Regions from separate parts of the Homo sapiens genome. Here regions 2 and 3 are each linked to region 1. Evidence: promoter capture Hi-C in 16 types of primary human blood cells and fetal thymus (Javierre and others, 2016). All regions are on one chromosome and are shown on one strand. Each heading gives the region's core, a stretch centred on a gene start or on the middle of the fragment in contact. The rest is flanking DNA. Distances are from core to core; before and after follow the strand shown.

What was found. Contacts are between HindIII fragments. The CHiCAGO score rates a contact against its expected background, and 5 or more counts as called.
Region 2: a fragment that was not itself captured here is called in contact with the fragment with the promoter of AKAP17A in region 1 in 1 of 17 cell types (activated CD4 T cells); the score reaches 6.3 in activated CD4 T cells.
Region 3: a contact is called between a fragment that was not itself captured here and the fragment with the promoter of AKAP17A in region 1, in 5 of 17 cell types (total B cells, total CD4 T cells, total CD8 T cells and 2 more). The highest score is 9.4, in total B cells.

The regions. Positions count from the first base shown.
Region 1 is chrX:1,590,304-1,592,879 of GRCh38, reverse strand. It overlaps AKAP17A (A-kinase anchoring protein 17A), which reads right to left and starts at 1,276. Exons shown (of 5, transcript NM_005088.3): 1 at 1,111-1,276. The HindIII fragment of the contact is 17,990 bases long and covers 171-2,576 here.
Region 2 is chrX:2,710,971-2,713,546 of GRCh38, reverse strand. All of the region lies in intron 1 of CD99 (CD99 molecule (Xg blood group)), which reads right to left. Among named protein-coding and RNA genes, the nearest start is that of CD99, 21 kb to the right of the region's middle. The HindIII fragment of the contact is 3,844 bases long and covers 1-2,576 here.
Region 3 is chrX:2,622,862-2,625,437 of GRCh38, reverse strand. It overlaps the pseudogene CD99P1. Among named protein-coding and RNA genes, the nearest start is that of LINC00102, 8.8 kb to the right of the region's middle. The HindIII fragment of the contact is 3,854 bases long and covers 1-2,576 here.

The sequences.
Region 1 (2,576 bases), core at 27-2,526:
CCCAGCTTTAACCCACTCAAAGCCAAAAAGTACAACGAACTTTCCACAAGTTAGGGGCCGGAGTCCCCCGTCTGCGCCTTCTTTCTCCGCCCACCTTCATTAACCCACCTCTTCCCTGCTGAGCTGACGGGCAGCCACTTCCTGACGGCCAAGTCCAAGTAGAGGAAGCTTCACTCGCAGAAACCCAACCATCTCAGGTGACCGCCTCCGGCCCGGCCGCCCACCCCATCAACCTGGAGGCTTCCTGCCAGGCCCAGGAGACGGCCTCCTCGCCCAAGCCCGAGGTGGGAGGTGCGAAAGAAGGGAGGGAGGGTGGAGAAGCGACCAGAAAAGGTCAGTGGGGCACCAGGGAGGGGCTCCAGTCTGGACAGAGACCAGTGAACCCTCCCCCAGAACCCAAGCGGCCCCAGCAACTTCACCACCGAGGAACCCTCCCCACTCTGGCCTCCAGCGCCCTCCGACCACCCCGGTACACCTGGCTGCCCAATCCCCAGTACGCGGCATTGCCCCTGGTATTCCCACCTACCGCAGCCCCCCAGCATGGCCTCAGGCTGCCGCTGGCACCCCTGGCAGGGCCCCACACATTCTCAGGCCCTTGGCCACTCGGTACCCTCAGCTCCTCAGTTCCCCGCTCCCCACCACCCTCCTGGATGAGCCCCAATACCCCAACCTACACAGCACCGCCCCAGCCTCCGAAAACCCCGGACAGCCCCTTGCTTCCCACTGTAGACCTAGGAGCGACCGCAGCGCCACGTCCCCTAGTCCCAGGCCTCCTAGTCTCCCGCCCATCCGATCCCCCGAGCTCCCAGCCCTCCGACACCGCTCCAGGCCTCAGCTCCTTCGGTGCAGTCCCAGGAACCGCTCCAGCCCCTACCCCTACTTCCAGGGACCCCCGGACCCCGACCGCAGACCTCCCCAGCCCCCGATTCCCCCGTACAGTTTCAGGCGCTCCCAGCCCCCCGGTGGCACCCCACGCCCCCCAACCCCAGCCCCGTCACCTCCGAGGCCCCTAGGCGCCGCCTCCCAAGCCCCGGCCCCCCGGGCCCGGCCCTAGGAGCGAAGCGTTCGCCGGCTGCAGCCAGGCCCGGGAGGCACGGGGGCGGCACTCACCTGCGCGGGGCTCCGCCTGCGTCCCAGGCCGCCGCCGCCGCTGGCCCAAGCTCCCGCCGTCCCTCGACGATCCCCGGACAGGCGCGGCCTCACCGCCGGGAGCCGCCACCGTCCCCCGGAGGCGCCTCCGACGCCGCCACCGCCGTCGCCGCCCGCCCTCTATGACGCATTTCCACTTCCGGCGCGCGGGCTCGCGGAAGAGGCCGCGCGGCAGCACCGGGTTTCTCCTTCTTGCCCTGGCTCCGCCCCCGGGAGGAGGGACTTCCGGGAGCCCGACCTTTTGCACTGCGCGTGCGCGAGTCCGCCCCGCCCCCATGGTGCCACCTGCCTGCGGGTAACCAGGGGAGGTACTTGGGCCAGGGTCTGTGGTCATAGCCCTTAAGCCAAACAGGAGGGGGGCCGGTGTGGGGTCTAAATTCCAATTGTAGAGTCAAATATATATAACAAAATTCTAAAATGTAATAGGATCCTATAACGGGATTCTATACTATACTTGCAAATTATGGGTAATATACTTGAATAATATAATTTATGTATAAATTAGATATCATATTCTATGACGTAATTATAGAATTACATATAAATTGCTAGTTAATTAACTATTAATTGAATGGTTAATAATTATTAATTGTATATTAATAATTATTAACGCATACCATTACATAATGTAATTATGAAATAATAAATGATAACTTACAATGGTATTATGAAATTAATAATAATTTATATTGCAATTATGAAATAAATGATCATTTCTAATTATAAGATAATTTATAATGTAATTATGAAATAAATATAATGTAATTTAAAAATAAATGATAATCTAATGTAATTATGAAGCAAATGCTATTGTATAATATAATCATAATTTATAATGTAATTTTGGAATAATAAATGATAATCTATAGTGTAATTATGAAATAAATGAAAATATATAATGTAATTCTGAAATGATCATTTATAATGTAATTATGAAATAATAAATGACAATTTATAATGTGATTACAAAATAATAAATGAGGCCAGGTGCGGTGGCTCACGTCTGTAATGCCAGCACTTTGGAGGGCCAAGGCGGGCAGATCACAAGGTCAGGAGTTCAAGACCAGCCTGGGGCCGGGCCCGGTGGCTCATGCCTGTAATCCCAGCACTTTGGGAGGCCGAGATGTGCGGATGATGAGGTCAGGAGATCGAGACCATCCTGGCTAACACGATGAAACCCCGTCTTTACTAAAATACAAAAAATAATCAGCCGGGCGTGGTGGTGGGCACCTGTAGTCCCAGCTACCAGCTACTCGGGAGGCTGTGGCAGGAGAATGGCGTGAACCTGGGAGGTGGGGCTTGCAGTGAGACCGTGCCACTGCACTCCAGCCTGGTTGACAGAGCGAGACTCCATGTCAAAACAAAACAAAAAAAAGACCAGCCTGGCCAGCATGGTGAAACCCCGTCTCTACTAAAAAGACAAAAAA
Region 2 (2,576 bases), core at 25-2,524, 1.1 Mb before region 1:
TGTGTGAGTGTGCATGTATATTTGGGCATTTGCAGTGCACATGTATGTATTTGTGGGTTTTGTGTGCATGTATGGGGTGTGTAGGTGAGTTCTGTGTGTGCATATGTGTATGTGTTGTGGGTGCATATAGGCAGGTGCATGTATGTGTGGGTTTGTGTATGTGCATATGTGTAGGCGTGTTTTGTGTAAGTGTGGAGGTGTATTTTGTGGGTTTCTGTGTGTGTAGTGTGTTTTTTGTGTGCATATGTGTCAGTGCATGTTCATGTGGGTTTGTGTGTGCATATGTAGGTGTGCACAGTGTGTAGGTGTGTTTCTGTGTGCCTATGGATGCATGTATGTGTGGGTTCTGTATGCATGTGTGTAGGTGTTATGTGTGCATGTGTGTAGGTGCATGTATATGTGGGTTTGTGTGTGTATGTGTAGGCGGATGTAGTGTGTATATGTGTTTTTCATGTGCATGTGTGCATGTGTCAATATGTTTATGTGTGTAGGTGTGTTTGTGCATGTGTGGGTGTGTGCATTTGTGTGTTTGTGCCTGTGTGGGTGTGTGCATTTGTGGGTTTGTGTGTGTATGTGTAGGTGTGTGTAGTGTGCAGGTGTGTTTCCACGTGTGCATATGCATAGGTGCATGTATGCATGTGTTTGTGTGCACACATGTAGTTGTGTGCACGTGTGTGTATGGGTAGGTGAGTATAGTGTGAAGGTGTGTTTTGAGTATGTACATACAGGTAGGTGTGTCCACGTCTGCTTGTATGTCTGTGTGTGTGTGTACTCATGGCTGCGTGTGTGTTTCTGTGTGTGTCAACAATAAGTAGAAAGTAGACAAAACGCTCGGAACAGCTCTGTGGGCCCCATGCCGGCAACCAGAGTGGAGTCGTTTCCACAACCTCAGAGCCCTGAAATGGCTGTTTCCACAACAGGACACTTGCCAGACATCATAAATGCAATTACAGCTCCTCCTGCAGCATGCGGCAGATCTTTAGACGGTAGCAAGGGAGGATCCTACTGATCCAGAATAAACCATAAGGCAGGTACAGACACACGCACATATAAATATATATATGCACTCATGTTCATATGTTTCCATAGAAATCTGTAATTGTATTTTTTGAAGTATTTTTTTTCTTTATTTACATCTTACCTCGCCTATTTATTTGTGGTGCAAACAGTTCAAAGCTACTGTCTTAGGCATTTTCAAGTATGCAACGCATTCTTACTAACCACAGTCACCCTGAGTACAGTAGACCCCTGAACTTATCCCTTCCTATCTGATGGAAATGTTGTACCCTTTACCCATCATTTCCCCATTTCCCCCACCCCTCACTCCCAACCCCTTGGTCACCGCCATTCCACTCTGCTTCTGTGAGTTCAGTGGTTTTAGATTCCACGTAAGCGTGTTTGGGTCAGACGGTATTTGTCTTTCTGTGCTCGGCTTACTGCACTTAACATCATGTCCTCCAGTTCCATCCATGTTGTTGCAAATGGCAGGACTTCCTTCTTTTTTCTTTTTGAGACAGAGTCTCACTCTGTTGCCCAAGCTGGAGTGCGATGATCTTGGCTCACTACAACCTCCGCCTCCTGGGTTCAAGCAATTCTCCTGCCTCAGCCTCCTGAGTAGCTGGGACTATAGGCGCCCGCCCATCATGCCCAGCTAATTTTTTGTATTTTTACTAGAGACGGGGTTTCACCATGTTGGCCAGGCTGGTCTTGAACTCCTGACCTCAGGTGATCCACCTGCCTCAGCCTCCCAAAGTGCTAGGATGACAGGCATGAGCCACCGCACCCAGCCAACCTCCTTCTTTTTTAAAGCTGAATACCATTCCATTGTGAATATACCCTATTTTCTTTGTTCATTTAATAGCTTTATTGAGGCATAGTTTACATAGCATGAAAGGCACTTATTCTCACTGTGCAAATGAATGGCTTTTAGTGAATGTACAGAGTTGATATAGCACATTTTCTTTCTGCATTCATCCCTTGATGGGCTCTTCCATTGACTGCATGTCTTGGCTACTCCGAATGGTGCTGCAATAAACATGGGAGGGGAGTGTCTCTTTGACATACTGATTTCCTTTCCTTATCCCAAATAAACATATATATATATACACACATACACATACTATATATATATATAATACACACACATACTATATATACACATACTATATACATACATACTGTATATACACATACTATGTATACACACACTACATATATACACACCATATACATACATACTATATATACTATATATACATACTATATATACGAATTATATATTTATACAAATATATATATACACATATATATATTATATATATATAGACTTGCCCTGACTTGCTGGGAATACCCTGAAGGTTTAGAAGTCATCTCTGGGGCCGGGTGCGGTGGCTCACACCTGTAATCTCAGCACTTTGGGAGGCCAAGGTGAGAGGATCACGAGGTCAGGAGTTCGAGACCAGCCCAACCAACATGGTGAAACCCCGTCTCTACTATAAATACAAAAAAATTGGCCAGGCGTGGTGATATGCGCATGTAATCCCAGCTACTCAGGAGGCTGAGGCAGGAAAATCGCT
Region 3 (2,576 bases), core at 45-2,544, 1.0 Mb before region 1:
AAAAATAAACAGAAAGATAGTGGGCATAAAAATATATCCAGAAAAATGAAAAAAAAGAAAAAACTAGAAATGCATTAAAAGAAATCATCAGGGAAAGAGGTACATCGAATATCAAGAAAAATCTCAATTTTGCAGGCATGTTGGTTCTGAAGTTCAAAGGAAAAAACGTCAGCTGGGCACGGTGGCTCACGCCTGTAATCCCAGCACTTTGAGAGGCTGAGGCAGGTAGATTATGAGGTCAGGAGTTCGAGACCAGCCTGGCCAATATGGTGAAATCCTGTGTCTACTAAAAACACAAAAATTAGCTGGGCGTGGTGGTGGGTGCCTGTAGTCCCAGCTGCTGGGGAGGCTGAGGCAGGAGAATCGCTTGAACCTGGGAGGGAGAGGTTGCAGTGAGTGGAGATCGTGCCACTGCACTCCAGCCTGGGCGACAGAGCAAGACTCTCTCAAAAAAAAAAAAAAAAGTCACCAAAATCAGAAAGCTCCGACAAATATAAGACACCATGAATAAAAATTTGAAGACTTGCCTGTCAAAAAATACTGTTAAACTATTCAATGGCAAAAATAAGATGAAAAAGCATTTTCATAGTAAATGGTTGGCAATATTTAATGTCTATAAAAAAATGAGGAACGTTTATAAAACAATACAGACATATCGGAAGATAAGAATAAAGGCAAAGTAATCAATACATATAGAAGAAGTAGGCTGGGCGCAGTGGCTCATGCCTGTAATCCTAGCACTTTGGGAGGCCGAGGCGGGTGGACTGCCTGAGCTCAGGAGTTGGAGACCAGCCTGGGTAACATGGTGAAACCCCATCTCTACTAAAATACAAACAAACAAACAAAAAAATTAGCCGGGCATGGTGGCATGCACCTGCAGTCCCAGCTACTTGGGAGCTGAGGCAGTAGAATTGCTTGAACCCGGGAGGCAGAGGTTGCAGTGAGCTGAGATGGTGCTCCTGCACTCCAGCCTGGCGACAGAGCGAGACTGTATCTCAAAAAAAAAAAAAAAGAAAAAAAAAGAAGTATACGTGGCAAATTGATGTACTATTTACTATTTTTTTTTAAATTGCAGAACTAAAGAACTGAAACTAGGCAAAGATTAATGTTACATGTGATAGTACATGACAAAGGTTTTCTAGGTGATCAGCAGCAGTAACGATGGTGGGAAGAAAGGGACATTTGCACATATCCCTGGCATCAAAATAAATTCATATAATTCTGGGCCAATTTCAGAACCAGGTCAAAACTACAGAAGTACTCATACACATTGATCTGAACAATTTGCATTCTAGAAATTGATTCGAAGGAATAAAAACAAGTGCATAAAGTTGATTCAAATTGACTTTGAAATCCATAATTCTAAAATGTTAGAAGAAACATAACATTGTCAAAATTAAATATTGAAGTATATAATTATGTGGGAAATAAATAAGGACATAAAATGGACAGTAAAAGTCATGTTAGAAAGACTTAAATGACATAAGAAAATCATCAAGAAATATGAATATGCCAAAAATAACGTTACTAGCACATAACTATCAAACTGTCAACAGGATTTGGACACTAGTTATATTTTTCTGTGTTACAAGTTAAACAAGCATGTAAACAAAAAAAAATCACTAACGATCTAACTATTTGAAAAGCACTCACCTCTCCACTGGGAATGCAACTATCCCTTCCTTCATATCATGTCTGTATTTAAAACCTCGTATTCAACTTTTTAGAGGTGGAATCCAAAAAATCTCAGAATTTAAGATTCTATTTAAGATTTATGACTTAAATCTTAAAATCTTAGAAGTAAAATCAGGACGCTAAAAATATAATCCAAATCAAAATTATATAGTTGAAAACTAGGTTTTGGAATTTCCTTGTACAAGGAGTGAAGAGTGAGCACAGGTTTCATGTGAAATCTCCCAGCTGACATGGATATCACTGTCCTGTAAACAACATACAGATGACCCATAGGGTTAGAGGCTCTTACCGGTGGAATCAGGCTGCTTGGGGTTTGGATTTGGCTTTGGTTTGGGTGGGTTCAGTGGTGCTGGCTCGTCTGTTTGTAAAAGATGAGAGTTGAGATTATGAGTGCCTTGAAGTGAAGAAAATGAAACATCAATTTGCATGCAGACGTTCACTAAACATATAAAAATTGGACCTTGTTCTTTGTCATGGTGGGGATACCCATACACACAGCCTCCTGCCAATATCCTTCCAACATCTTCCAGCTACAGTACTGATAAAGCATTTTCAATAAAACCTATCAGGCAGCTTTTCAGATCAGCTACAGAATTGGCAAGGTACTGTGTAAAATGAAAATGCAGAAATCCTTGCTCAACTGAATATTAAGAATTTCAAGATGACAACTAAAGACTCATAAACCAATATGGCACCCTTGTAAGCATGGGTCCCTGGGTGATCGAACAAGTCACACACTCATGAAGCCTAACTTGGCCAGGGGAGTCAGATTTGCCTTACATCATTCCAAAGACTGTGAGAGTTTTAAAATAAAACTATGCATACTGGTAAAAACAAAAACAAAGTCCAACAATATCCAAAACAAACAACAACACACCTAC